Linked DNA regions of Homo sapiens: all the other regions are linked to region 5. Evidence: promoter capture Hi-C in 16 types of primary human blood cells and fetal thymus (Javierre and others, 2016). All regions are on one chromosome and are shown on one strand. Each heading gives the region's core, a stretch centred on a gene start or on the middle of the fragment in contact. The rest is flanking DNA. Distances are from core to core; before and after follow the strand shown.

Region 1 (2,704 bases), core at 21-2,520, 910 kb before region 5:
CCCAACGTGCTAGGATTACAGGCGTGAGCCACCGCACCCAGCCACAGATCTTATTTTCCACCTGAATTGCTCCAAGGAGACAACCACCTTCTCTGCTCCAAACCAAGTCCCTTTTTTCCTTGATCATCCCTGCAACAGCCGCTTTTCTCTTGCTTGCTATAATTTTCCTAGTACTCTCTTACTGCCAGCGAGGAGCTCCTATTATTATTTGTAAAGCTTGTGGGAAGAGGACCATCTCCTAAATGCTTTGGACTGGTCTCGTACTTGTTTTCTGTGTGTTACTTTGAGATACAGATTCATGACGGCGCTCAGATTTTATTTTACTTTTTAATGTTTCATGACACCCATTCTAATGTTGATCATTTCTTCTCAGCCACAGAACAGCCTGGTTCACTGCACAGTTCCCAGGGACTTGGGATGGGTCCTGTGGAGGAGTCCTGGTTTGCTCCTTCCCTGGAGCACCCACAAGAAGAGAATGAGCCCAGCCTGCAGAGTAAACTCCAAGACGAAGCCAACTACCATCTTTATGGCAGCCGCATGGACAGGCAGACGAAACAGCAGCCCAGACAGAATGTGGCTTACAACAGAGAGGAGGAAAGGAGACGCAGGGTCTCCCATGACCCTTTTGCACAGCAAAGACCTTACGAGAATTTTCAGAATACAGAGGGAAAAGGCACTGCTTATTCCAGTGCAGCCAGTCATGGTAATGCAGTGCACCAGCCCTCAGGGCTCACCAGCCAACCTCAAGTACTGTATCAGAACAATGGATTATATAGCTCACATGGCTTTGGAACAAGACCACTGGATCCAGGAACAGCAGGTCCCAGAGTTTGGTACAGGCCAATTCCAAGTCATATGCCTAGTCTGCATAATATCCCAGTGCCTGAGACCAACTATCTAGGAAATACACCCACCATGCCATTCAGCTCCTTGCCACCAACAGGTAAATGGGTCTTCGATAGTCACAAGCTTGTCTTTTTTTATTTTTCAGAAAATACAGCAACCAAGCAGCTCTATTATAGATTGTGGGTTATAATGGGGACAGAGGGCATCATCAGCTGCCAGATGCAAATTGCCCCTGTGGAATGGACCCTGCCAAACCACTTGGTCTGGGAGTATTTCATCTGGGGCTAGGATTCATCACAGATGCCCGCAAGCATCGGGTTACAGGTCCTTGTGACTGGCAGGCATCTTTGACTCTAACCTGGAGTGCATAGTAGTCCTATTTCACCCAATCTCTGATAAATGGGAAGTTATCTGCTTATTTGCTTTTACCTTGCTTGCTACTTTTTGAAGGTAAGAAATCAGTCTTGGATATTTTTGTTTCTGACCTTATATAGCTCAAAGACTACCATTAGTGATGAAAAATTTTCTTTTAACTCCCATATCTCTATCAGGTGAAGTAAAAGGTAGGTGATAGTAGTTACTGGCAGTCTAGAATGGAAGTGAGTTAATGTAATATCCAGCATTTTTATCAAATAATACTCACCAACATCACCTTAACTACCTGAACAGCATCTACCAATGATACCCACAGGTGTCCTGGAGATCTTGAAATCATCTCAGGTAGAGGAAGCTTTCAGAACCACAGAGCTTAGTTACATTTTCTTTCAAAAGGCCAAATTCTCCAAAAACGTCCTATGCAAACATCCTCGATTTCTTCCATAGGTTTTATGATAAGATCTGTAGAATGCAAAATATTGGATTAGACATTAAGCAGTATCCAAGTCATGTATAATCCTATGAGCAGAATGTCCTTTTGTTTCCTTCATGTTGGGGATAAAATTTTTTATTAGTATTGCCATATCATTTTATTCATTCATGATTAAGTCAATAAAAATTTCAGCTGGGGCCATGGTTGGCCAGGTGTGGTGGCTTATGCCTGTAATCTCAGCACTTTGGGAGGCTGAGGTGAGTGGATCACTTGAGGCCAGGAGTTCGAGACCAGCCTGGCTAACATGGTAAAACCCTGTCTCTACTAAATAATACAAAAATTAGCCAGGCGTGGTGGCGCATGCCTTTAGCCCCAGCTACTAGGGAGGCTGAGGCAGGAGAATCACTTGAACCCTGGAGACAGACGTTGCAGTGAGCTGAGATCATGCCACTGCACTCCAGCCTGGGCAACAGAGTGAGATTGTGTCTCGAAAAAAAAAAAAAAATTCCACTGGCTGGGCACAGTGGCTCACGCCTGTAATTCCAGCACTTTGGGAGGCCGAGGTGGGAAGATCACGAGGTCAGGAGATTGAGACCATCCTGGCTAACACGGTGAAACCCCGTCTCTACTAAAAATACAAAAAAAAAAAAAAAAAAGCTGGGCATAGTGGCGTGCGCCTGTAATCCCAGCTACTTGGGAGGGTGAGGCAGGAGAATCACTTGAACCCGGGAGGCAGAGGTTGCAGTAAGCCGAGATTGCACCACTGCACTCCAGCCTGGGTGACAGAGCGAGACTGTCGCAAAAAAAAAAAAAAAAAAAAAAAAATTCCAAAACTCTTCCCACTTTGTGACGTGCAGTTCTCCAGGCACTGGAGCTATAACTGAACAAACAGCCTGAGTCCCTTCCCTCACACAGTTTAAATCCTAGTGGACAGAAGGCAGACCCTAAACCAATATTTAATGTGTCATTTTTTATCTTTTTTCTACATGAGCAACCCAAATACACCCGTTTAGTGCCAGAAATCTCTTTGTGTTTTCACCTCGTTCTGGT
Region 2 (2,700 bases), core at 180-2,679, 950 kb before region 5:
AGGGAGACCAGAGGCTCGGGAGGGGGCCTGGGCATTAGACCAGGCACAGGATCCAAAGTGGGAAGAAATGTGGGCGTAGAGGGCAGGCCTTGGAGATGGGTGTGGGGGAGGAGGGGGAGATGGAAAGGAGTCAGGGAGGTCTCCCAGGCTCACCTGGAGGAGTCAGGGTCTCATTTCCAAGTGCACTGGGAACTGCAGCCTGGGGGTGGGGGTTCATTTGGTTTCAGGCCTGTGGCCAAGAGACCTACCCCCTCATATTCACACTTTGGCCTCCACGGGCTTCAGAGATAGTACCAGCTCTTTGTTCTCGCTGGTTTTCTTTCCTCACCTTGGGCTGTTTCTTGCCTTTTCCATTCTGGTGTTCTGCAAGGACCAGTTCCTTCATCTCATGCACAGTCTACACTCATGGCTTTTGCTGGGAGTAATGAGTAAAGCTCCCAAATAGATGTTTCTGAGTTAAAACACTGAACACAAAATGAAGCAAAAACAACGCATTTCCAACCTCCCAAGGTCACATGATGTCTAGAGGACAGTGATGGGCAATAACTTTTTGTCTTCCCCATTAGAATGCAAGCTCCACGAATGGAACGTGGAGTTTTTTATTTTTTATTGTTTTTTGAGACGGAGTCTGGCTCTGTCACCCAGGCTGGAGCAATCTTGGCTCACTGCAACCTCCGCCTTCTGGGTTCAAGCAATTCTCCCGCCTCAGCCTCCTGAGTAGCTGGGTCTACAGGCATGCACCACCACGCCCAGCTAATTTTTGTATTTTTAGTAGAGACGAGGTTTCATCATGTTTGCCAGGCTGGTCCGGAACCCCTGAGCTCAGGCAATCCGCCCGACTTGGCCTCCCAAAGTGCTAGGATTACAGGTGTGAGCCACTACACACGGCCAGAACATAGAGATTTTTTGTGTTTAATTCACAACCGAGTCTTCAGTGCCTAGAACAGGTGCTCAGTAAATATTTACTGAAGGAATGAATTCCTTTTTGTATTTCTTGTATCTATCACCAGATGCTCTTGTATCTAGTACCTGCTTGGCATACAGTAGATAGAAAGCTTTGCTGAGTGAATAGCTCTGCCTTTCGTCTTTTTTGATATGTGTACATCTTTTAAAAAATAATGAATAGACTTTGTTTTAGAGCTGTTTTGGTTTACAGCAAAACTAAGCAGAAAGAAAATATCCCCTTCCACAAACATCCTGGACTGTACAGCCTCCCCTACCATCAACATCCTGCATTACTGTGGAATATTTGTCACACCTGATAAACCAACATAGATTCATGGTTACAAAAATGAACCAATATGGATAAAACATATACATTATCAGCCAAAGTCCGGAGTTTGTTAGGTTTTGCTCTTTGTGTATATTCAAGATACATTTGACAAATGTATAGAGATGTACCCAACCCTGTAACGTCAGACTCCACTGCCCTAAAAATCCCTTGTGCCTCACCTATCCATCCCTCCTTCCCTGCAAATCCCTGGCAGCCGCTGATCTTTTTTACTATCTCCGTAGTTTTTCCTTTTCCAGAATGTCACATAGTTGGAATCATGCATTATGTAGTCTTCTCAGATTGGCTTCTTTCACTTAGATTTATACATTTAGGATTGCTCCAGGATTTTTTTTTTTTTTTTTTTTTTTGTGGCTTCAGAGCTCATTTCTTTTTAGCACTTAATATTCCATTGTATAGATGTACCACAGCTTATCTGTCCACCCATTAAGTGATATCTTGGATGCCCTCAAGTTTTGGCAATTATGAATAAAGCTGCTATAGACATTCTTGTACAGGTGTTTGTATGGGCATAAGCTTTCAACTCGTTTGGGTAAATACCAAGGTGTGGAGTTGCTTCATCTTATGGTAAGAAGAGCTTGGTTAAGAAATTGCCAAAATGTCTTCCAGACTCTAACATTAGGCATTCCCACTAGGAATGTATGGGAGTTCCTTGTGCTCCAGATCCTCATCAACATTTGTTGTTGTCAGTGTTCTGAATTTTAGCCATTCTAATAAATGTGTAATAGTATTTGTTTTTTTAAATTGCAATTCTTTAATGACATGATGTTGAGCATCTTTTCATATGCATATACATATGGTGAGGTGTATGTTCAGAGCTTTTGCCCGCCTTTAATCAAGTTGTACATTTTCATATTGTTGCATTTTAAGAGGGTTTTTTTTGGTATATTTTGGGTCACAGTGCTTTATCAGATATGTCTTTTGCAAATATTTTCTCCCAGTCTGTGGCTCGTGTTGTGAACGTGGCTAGTTCTCTTGACATACATATCTTTTCACAGTATGTAATCCTGTTGTGCTTTTTTTTTTTTTCCTTTTGAGACGGAATCTTGCTCTTGTCACCCAGGCTGGAGTGCAGTGGCGCGATCTCGGCTCACTACAATCTCCACCTCCCAGGTTCAAGGGATTCTCCTGCCTCAGCCTCCCGAGTAGCTGGGATTGCTGGTGCCCGCCACCACGCCCAGTTGATTTTTGTATTTTTTAGTAGAGATGGGGTTTCACCATGTTGGCCAGGCTGGTCTCGAACTGCTGACCTCAAGTGATCCGCCCGCCTTGGCTTCCCAAAGTGCTGGGATTACAGGCGTGAACAACCGCGCCCGGCCTGATGTGCATATAATTTTATTATTTGATTTTTAATATACATGAATAGCATGCAGTTCCAACTTTGCTCGAGACTTCACAATTACCATTTT
Region 3 (2,700 bases), core at 117-2,616, 670 kb before region 5:
CAGGAGGAAAGAGACATTCTTTTTGTTTTCTTCAGTCCCAACCCTCTAATCCTTGGTGCCTGCACGTTCCACGATTCCATGCTTGGGGACGGAAGGATGTGGGGATGTGGGGAAGTGAGGAAGGGAATTGGTTTCTGACCATGGCCTGGAACAGCTACTACAACGGAGGGGTCTGGCCTCTGAACCAAAGCCTAGGCGCCATCTTTCCTGGAGCAGGAGCTGTATTTTTCTACAAGCTTCTGTTTTCTCTTCTTACCTGAGCTTTGGGTGACTTGTGGCCATCTGCTCAGAGTGACAATAGCAGTCTGCATTGTGTTTATCTTGCTCTCAGTTTCTTTATTTAGCAAGGCCACTGTCTTCTTACTGAGTCCCATCTGCACCTAAGTGAGTGCACACTATAGAATCCGGCCCTGTTGATGGAAAAATGCAGCCCACCATTCGGCACTTACTAGCCTGGCAATCACACGAGCATCCACCACATTCCCGGCACGGAGCTGGGTGTGGTGCCCTTCCCAACTCCTAGGACCTGACCCACCCAACACCTGAGGCCAGATACTTCACCCCTAGCGGCTGCTCATTCAACCCAAGATCCAACTAGCAAACTGTCCAAGGAAAACAGAGCTTCAAACCTTCCAGCTGCAGAAAGTCACCAAATCTTACAGCAAGCATCCTGGGTCACAAGGAGACAAACCCTTCCCAGCCAACGGACCGGGTCCCCATGACCCAGAGCCAGGGCAGGGAGGGCTTAGGAATTTAGAGGCTTTGCCTCAGAGGAGAGTCAACTGGTACTGTCTTCCCTTCCAACTGTCTCTCCAGCGTTCATCACCACTCTGGAAATAGTCATCTTTCATAACCCCTTCAGAAGAGTAAACAGTGTCTCCCTCTGGGTAAACCAGAAAGCCACAAAGCCTCCCCTGAGCAGGATGACAAGGAAGGGGGATGCTCCTCTGCTTCTGCCCTCAAGGACAGCTGCCTTTTCTGCAAACAGCTGGGTGATGGGGTGCTTCCCACTGGGGCCAACTGGCCGCGGGGCACTTCTCCCTGCTCTTCGTTCCTCCCTGCCAAAGCCTGCAGAACCCTCGAGGAAGCCTGCCCTAGCCACCAAGCAGCTCAGCACTGAGCTGGGGCTTCGGACTGGGCAGTCAGAGCCCCAAACACCTTTCTGTCTCCTACCTGTCTTTCTTCCTCCCCACTTCCTGGGGACCTAAGAGGCAGCCTCTCTCTCCCTATCCCACCTACCCGAGGACTCTTCGGCCAAATTGACTCCTACCACCAAATCCCAATGCCAACCCCGAGGCAAGCCCTGTGGCCCCTGGAGTTTCTGGAACCCTCTCTAGAATGTGGTTCAACCATAGGGCATCCCCTGCAGGCCCTGAATTATTATAGTACCAAAATATACCTTCCTTCCTCCTCCACCTCCTCACAGCCTAGTTTGCAGTTAGGCTAACCGTCACAGCTGGCATGAGCTGTTTTCATCAGATTAAAATGCATGGCCCTTCTTCCCACACACTATTGTATTTCTGTTTGGTGAAGAATATTGAATACTCAACCACCCAAGTGCTTTAAATATCACTGAATCTCAGGAGGTGGAAGAGCAGAGTGGAGAAGATGAATTATTTGAACTACTCAGAAATAAGCCTAACATGAAAGCAGGAAATTCATATGAAGTGGGCAGTGCCTCAAGCAACCTGATATCTTCAGGAAAGATAAGGTGGTGGCTTATTGCTCCCATCGCTCTCTGATCACAGACCTGGGACAGAGCACCTCTTCCAGGGCTCTTGATTCCTGTGATACACGAAGGCAGATGATCACGGTCGCCTTCATCCCCTCTTGGGGGCTAAGTACATTCACAGTCCCTTGGTTCTTGGTCTTTGTGTCCTTTGAAGCACATAAAAGTCTGGTGGATGAGTAGGACCATGGTTGATAGAAAATTATTTCCCAGTACTGCACAGCATAGTGACTCAGCATGCATGCACACACACACCCCAAATTTTCATGAAACGATACTTAACCCTTATTGTGTGTGATGCACTTAATTCTATTTTTTTCTTTAAAAATGCTGGGCAGGACCCACCCGATGGATTCTATAACCCTTAACCCAAGCCCTAATGTGTCATAAACTACAGTTTTAAAAGCTGCTCTAAAGTAGGGTTGGAAAACTATGACCCTCGGGCCAAATCCTGCTGAAGGCTGCTGTTTTTGTACAATGCACTGCCTGATTTTATTCAGCTCGTCCCTAAGAATGGACATTTTTAAATGGTTCAAGACAACCAAAAGATGAATAATATCTCTTGTGTGAAGTTTATGTGAAATTGAAATTTTAGTGTCGACAAATGCGGCTTTTGTGGAATGCGGTCACACTCATTCACCTCCAGATTGTCCATGGCTGCTGTTGCAGTAGCAGGGAGTAGTAGGTGGGGCAGAGACCGTATGGCCTGCACAGCCCAGAATATTCATGTTCTGGCCCTTTGCAGAAAACTTGGCCCATGCCTGCTCTGAAGCTTTGACAGCTGCAGGCTGGATTAACTGATCCATTCGTCAAACTGGTTGTCAGAGCCAGCATGTTTTAGTTATCCTTCAGTTTCTAACAGAAAAATCAGCATTATTACTTAAAAAATGCAAATGGTGATTTTTATTATGAGAGCAGATTCCTCAAGGGAGACGGAGTTATTTTCACATCAGAGAGAGAAAACAAATGGA
Region 4 (2,700 bases), core at 41-2,540, 750 kb before region 5:
GTGATTCCATTTGTGATCAGTGAGAGGGAGAGGGAATAAAGTGCTTCTCGTAAAAATGACCAAAATAAATACACACATTTAACGGCAGAAAAGAAAGTCTTGAAAGGGTTATTTCCAAAGAGTTTGTCTCCTCCGACCCGCGCTCCTTGGACTTTTGGAAAGACAGGATTTCCCCACACCAGTTGAGAGGCTCAGCTTGGCTGAGGCAGCTTTCCCACCCCTGGCTGCGTGTTCGGTCCCTGGTCTGTAAACCTGTGCCCAAGCTGCCCCAGACCCTGGAGCCCCGGGTTCCGCAGGCCGGGCTACATGGCCTTCATGCCGTTGGCCGTGGCACCCTCGGGCAGTGTGTCACCCGCGGCTGCGGCATCGTGGAGGCCCGAGTAGTCCTTGAGCTCGGCGTTGGTGAGCAGCAGTGGCTGCTCCCCCTTCTTGTGCGGCAGCAGCGGCTGGCGCGTGTAGTGCTCCCCGTTAGAAATGTTCTCAGGCAGGTTCTGGTCCCTGCTCTCGGGCAGCAGGAGGATGCAGATGATGCAGATGAGCGTGCAGCAGGCAAAGATGATGTGGTGCAGGAAGTAGCCTTTCTGGTTGTGCAGCTCGATGATGGGTGCCGTCAGCATGCCGAAGCCCGCGCTGGCCAGCACCAGCCCCAGCCCGCCACACCTGCAGGGGGAGGGAAGCACAGGGATTGCTGCTGTGGGCTAGCGGGCTGGATCCCGGGAAAGCTCGGGGTGGACCAGGAAGCCACCTCTGCAGGGGCCCTGCTGCCCTGGGCACTGCCCAGTATACCCCGACCTCACACGTCCCATGTCACCAGCACCCTGGCTGTGTCTGTACAAGGCCACTCTACGGCAGTGACTGTTTTTCCTCATCAAATCAAAAGCTTTTACTTAATTTATCTTTTTCTTTAATGTTTCCTATTTTTATTGTTTTTTCAGGGCTGGGGACCATGAGAACTTTATTTTGAAAGGCAGCCTTATATAATACTACTGTAAATGGGAAGCTGATATTACTTGCCATAAGTAGTATACAAGGAAAAACAAAAGGGATTGAAATTATGCCATTTCCTGAAGGCCTGGGGGATTACCAAGGGTTAAAGAGGGTACTAAGGACATACCAACACGAACAGAGACTTTCTCTTTGTCATAACTGGAGAGACTGCAAGATACTTTAAAAGAGTAGTTTCCTCACTGTGAGTTGATGGCCCACGTGTCTCCTGAAATTGCTCACATACCACCATTGGAAACGGTCCCATCTCTGAGGATTGTGCCTGAAGGGTCCCCCAAATGAAGCTGTGCACTGACAGAGAGGAACTCACTGCAGCTCTGAGCTCAGGATAACCAAAGTCCAGAAGGCAAGCCATTGATTTCCACTCCCTGCCTTGTACGGGAGCAGCCAAGAGTCCCAGGGATTAGTAGATACGCAAAACTTACAGAACCCCTATCCCTCAAACCTCTCCACTTTGACCTAAAAACACATTACTGGGACAAAGGTGTTCTGTGGCCCCTGAGAAAGCAGTGCTGTACCAGGCTGCAGTGGGACCGTGGCGCTCAGGTGTCAGGCCAGGCTAGAGAGGGCTGCCTGGTCCCCAGTTCTGGGGCCTCATTGAAGGAGGTAGGCAGAGGTGGCCTTGTCTCAAGGAAGAGGGAGTGGAGTTGTGTGCCTCGCTCCACAGCAGCAGGTAGACTGGTCCTTTGGTTTGGGGAAGCTTTCTAATGGGCTGCTCGTTAGGCACCCCCTTGAAGTGAAGAGGGCTGTATCCTTTGAACTGCTGAGGCTGAGTGGGCTGAAAGGGAGGTCCCTGCAACAGGTAGGAGGCAGGTAGATAACTCCAGCTCTTGACTAGTCTGTGGTTCTCTTGGTTGGCACTATAGGTAGCTCCTAACTCACCAAAAGACTGTCCTACAAGGTCACAAGATAAAAGATCAACATACAAAAGTCAATTATATGTCTACGTGCTAGCAACACCCAAAAATGAAAATGCCATTCACAATAACATCCAATGAATAAAATGTTTAGAAATAAATAACAAAGGAATGCAAGACTTGTATGCTGAAAAAGATAAAACATTGCTGAAAATTAAAAGATAAAAATAAATGGAGTGACATTCCATGTTCATGAATTAGAAGACTAAATATTATAAAGATGGTAATTTTTCCCAAATTGATCTATACATTCCACATAATCCCTATCAAAATTCCAGGTGACTTTTTTTTTTTTTCAGAAAACAGCCAATTCTAAAATTTATATGGAAATGCAAAAGACTCAGAGTAGTCAAAAACAATTTTGGAAAAGAACAAAGAAGGCTTGCCTTCCCAGTTTCAAAACTATAAAGCCATACGGCTTAAGGCAGTGTGGTGTTGGTGTATATATCAATAGATCAATGGAACAGAACTGGGAGTTCAGAAACTAACCTTCACATTTATGGTCAACTGACTGTAGATGGAGGCAAATCCAGTGAGGGGGAAGGGATAGTTTTTTCAACAGGTGGTGCTGGGACAACAGGATATTCATGTGCAAAAGAATGATGTTGGACCCTTCACATCATGTAAAAAAATGAACTCAAAATGGATAATAAAATCTAAGTGCTTAACTTAGCTCAAACTATAACGCTTCTAGAAGAAAACAAGAGAAAAGCTTTATGACGTTGGGTTAGGCAAAGATTTCTTACACATAACATCAAAAGTAGGATCCATAAAAGAA
Region 5 (2,870 bases), core at 242-2,741:
TAGTTTACTAAGTTTATTTCATTTATTTATTTGAGACGGCGTTTTTGCTTTTGTTGCCCAGGCTGGAGTGCAATGGCGCGATCTCGGCCTCCCGGGTTCAAGCGATTCTCTTGCCTCAGCCTCCCGAGTAGCTGAGACTACAGGCGCCACCACGCCGGCTAATTTTTTGTATTTTTAGCAGAGACGGAGTTTCGCTATGTTGGCCAGGCTGGACTCGAACTCTTGAGTTCAGGCAATCCGCCCGCCTCGGCCTCCCAAAGTGCTAGAGGATTGCAGGCGTGAGCCACCGCGCCCGGCCCTAACATTTCAAAACGTTTGGAATTCAGGCAACAAGAGACATTTTGTAAGAACATTTAAAACCCTTCTCCCCTGGAAATCAAGAGATATGTATGGAGTCTGGAGATTCCGAACTCAATTTTCTAGGACAAAGGCAAACTCAGATGATTACAAGAATGAAAGTGATCGTCACGCTGCTTCCAGGTTCCAAAGTATGGATAATTTTTTTTTTTTTTTTGAGATGGAATCTTGCTCTGTCGCCCAGGCTGGAGTGCAGTGGCGTGATCTCAGTGCAAACTCCGCCTCTCGGGTTCAAGCGATTCTCCTGCCTCAGCCTCCGGAGTAGCTGGGATTATAGGCGAGCGCCACCACGCCCAGCTAATTTTTTGTATTTTTAATAGAGACGGGGTTTCACCATGTTGGCCAGGCTGGTCTCCAAATCCTGGCCTCAGGTGATCCGCCCGCCTCGGCCTCCCAAGGTGCTGGGATTACAGGGGTGAGCCACAGCGCCAGGCGAGAAATATTTTTTTAAAGAGGAATTAAAGAACCTAATTGGTTTTGAGAGTTCTCCAAGAGCCAGTAAATGTTTTCCCCACAATATTCCATTCTACCCCATTACTGTAGAGTCGTTATAGAAGAAAACAAAATCACATAACGCAACTTGGGCCAAAAAACATTACACGTTCCAATTACGGAAATAACGAACTGAATCGTGTCACCCTTGAACTATGTAAAAGTTGAAAAGATGTTCAGTGTTAAATGTAGTAACAGTTCCACATTAAAAGATATTTACGTTCGAGTTTACAGTATTTAAAAATGCCTTTCTACACACTTTCCCGGGAAGTTAATGCCACTTCAGTTGAGCTGTCTAGCGAGATGGTTAAGCATTTACTGTGTCTCTAACACCGACCAGGGGAAAAATCATCAATTCGTTTGCCCGAGTTTAAGAGAATTTTCACCTAACTTCTAATCTCCACAGCCAATCAGTTCTTGGAACCGCACACCCGATGCCGACATCCCTCTCTTGTTGGCTCCCCTCGTTAGCGGGATTCAATAACTAAACGTCCATTTCTAGCATTGACTGAAGAGCTCAAGCTTGACACTCGACCTCAATCCTTAGCAGCACCGCCCACCATGCTCCCGGAAGCTGCGACACTACGCCCTGCGCTAGTCCCGGGACGTGGGGTTTTATATCCGGATTCTTAGCGCGGACTCAGAACCCAGCTCTTCCCTACACGGTCGGCACATGCGCGGCAGCTCTTTTCCTTCTTCCTCCACTTCCCCTACCCTCCACCGTCCGGGAGCCGCCGCCACCGCCGCCGAGGAGTCAGGAAGTTCAAGATGGCCGCCGCGGAGACCCAGTCGCTACGGGAGCAGCCAGAGTAAGTAGTCTCTGTGAGTGGGCCAGAAGCTGGAGCCCGGGGACTGCCGAGTGGGAGCTGCACGGGGTGGCGGGAAAGTTCGGGCCTAACGGCGAGAGTCAAACTTTGCTTTTTCCGGCGCGATTCGTTGTGGGGTGGGAGGCATGGGGAGCAGGCGGCCTTCGAGCTTCCTTCTCCCAGAGGCCGTGGCTGCTGGGGTGAAGGCGGCCGCGGCCTGCCGCGCGTCGTTGCCCCGGGAGGCGTAGGCGCGAGCGGCCTCTACAGGTCCGGTGCGCGTGGCGGCTGCCGCGGCAGTGAGGTCGCGCTTTCCTATGCCTCTTTTGGGGACCCATCTGAGCTCCCTGGCCGCAGCTCTTAGCGGCATCTGTGTTGGGGACACGAGGGTCAGTGGCAGCAGGCGGGCCAAGCCCTAAGTCTTTTCTTCCTCATGCGGTACCCCCAGTCGTCCTTTTACTGGTGTCAGTTTAGGACCTGAAAGCAGAGAGCGGAGGTGCTGGGGTCACACTCTCTGGCCATCCCAGAGCTAGTCTGTGGCTAGCGGGATACTTGATCTCGTCACCTTGTACTCTTTAGTCCAGCAGTCACCCAGTATTGTTTTGTTTTGTTTTGAGTGCCTACCGGCAGCTTTTTTACCAACTTGCAAACTTGAGGCAAAGTAAGATAGAGTCTTTGGTTTTGAGGCCTGGCATTTTTTTTTTTTTTTTTTTTTTGCCTGAGTTTATAACCCTTCTTTAGGAGGACGAGTGGAAGGAGTAGTGGGAATTGCTAGCTACTGCCAAACCACTTTATGTCTATAATTAAGCTAACATTAAGAATCCATGCGGCCAAATGAAAAATGAAAAAAAAAAAAATACGAGTGTATGCTGCAAAGGTTAACCATTGGTTAACTTAAAGCAGTATTTTGCTGTTCATGTCTATGTTAGGAAAACTCAAACAAGAACCTTAACAGAGAGAATGGATTTTACGGCAATGTTCCTATAGCGACCGTTTTTTTTTTTTGTTTTGTTTTTTGTTTTTTTTTGCATCTGCACTGTCTGATCTGTTTCCAGCCATCTTAGAAAGAGGTATAGTCTCCCAGCAACTTGTGACTGAGCGATAGAAGAAATCTTTGCCACCAGACAACCTGACACTTAATTGCTGTGCATCCAGTTTTGGGCTCCTCAATCATCTGCATTACTCAGCTAGGCAGAGAAACGGAATTTTTAATTAAGG

What was found. The method cuts DNA at HindIII sites, captures the fragments that hold promoters and counts their contacts. A CHiCAGO score of 5 or more calls a contact.
Region 1: a contact is called between a fragment that was not itself captured here and the fragment with the promoter of PRP4K in region 5, in 1 of 17 cell types (total CD8 T cells). The highest score is 6.1, in total CD8 T cells.
Region 2: a fragment that was not itself captured here is called in contact with the fragment with the promoter of PRP4K in region 5 in 3 of 17 cell types (total CD8 T cells, fetal thymus and activated CD4 T cells); the score reaches 7.4 in total CD8 T cells.
Region 3: a fragment that was not itself captured here is called in contact with the fragment with the promoter of PRP4K in region 5 in 1 of 17 cell types (total CD4 T cells); the score reaches 5.3 in total CD4 T cells.
Region 4: a contact is called between a fragment that was not itself captured here and the fragment with the promoter of PRP4K in region 5, in 3 of 17 cell types (total B cells, activated CD4 T cells and total CD4 T cells). The highest score is 6.8, in total B cells.

The regions. Positions count from the first base shown.
Region 1 is chr6:3,105,109-3,107,812 of GRCh38, forward strand. RIPK1 (receptor interacting serine/threonine kinase 1) reads left to right here. Exons shown (of 11, transcript NM_001354930.2): 9 at 374-943. It overlaps LOC107986556 (a long non-coding RNA gene), which reads right to left. Exons shown (of 4, transcript XR_001743928.3): 3 at 2,694-2,704; 4 at 314-1,683. Among named protein-coding and RNA genes, the nearest start is that of BPHL, 12 kb to the right of the region's middle. The HindIII fragment of the contact is 607 bases long and covers 968-1,574 here.
Region 2 is chr6:3,065,434-3,068,133 of GRCh38, forward strand. It overlaps a transcript of RIPK1 not described here. Among named protein-coding and RNA genes, the nearest start is that of RIPK1, 1.7 kb to the right of the region's middle. The HindIII fragment of the contact is 752 bases long and covers 1,054-1,805 here.
Region 3 is chr6:3,348,131-3,350,830 of GRCh38, forward strand. The region is part of intron 3 of SLC22A23 (solute carrier family 22 member 23); the gene reads right to left. Among named protein-coding and RNA genes, the nearest start is that of PSMG4, 91 kb to the left of the region's middle. RefSeq lists an enhancer at 1,033-2,700. The HindIII fragment of the contact is 2,265 bases long and covers 235-2,499 here.
Region 4 is chr6:3,272,753-3,275,452 of GRCh38, forward strand. It overlaps SLC22A23 (solute carrier family 22 member 23), which reads right to left. Exons shown (of 10, transcript NM_015482.2): 10 at 1-660. The coding sequence ends at 303. Among named protein-coding and RNA genes, the nearest start is that of PSMG4, 15 kb to the left of the region's middle. The HindIII fragment of the contact is 825 bases long and covers 879-1,703 here.
Region 5 is chr6:4,019,809-4,022,678 of GRCh38, forward strand. PRP4K (pre-mRNA processing factor kinase PRP4K) reads left to right here and starts at 1,492. Exons shown (of 15, transcript NM_003913.5): 1 at 1,492-1,658. The coding sequence starts at 1,618. LOC124901245 (a long non-coding RNA gene) reads right to left here and starts at 1,359. Exons shown (of 2, transcript XR_007059415.1): 1 at 1-1,359. RefSeq lists enhancers at 1,323-1,632, 2,675-2,734. The HindIII fragment of the contact is 11,601 bases long and covers 1,370-2,870 here.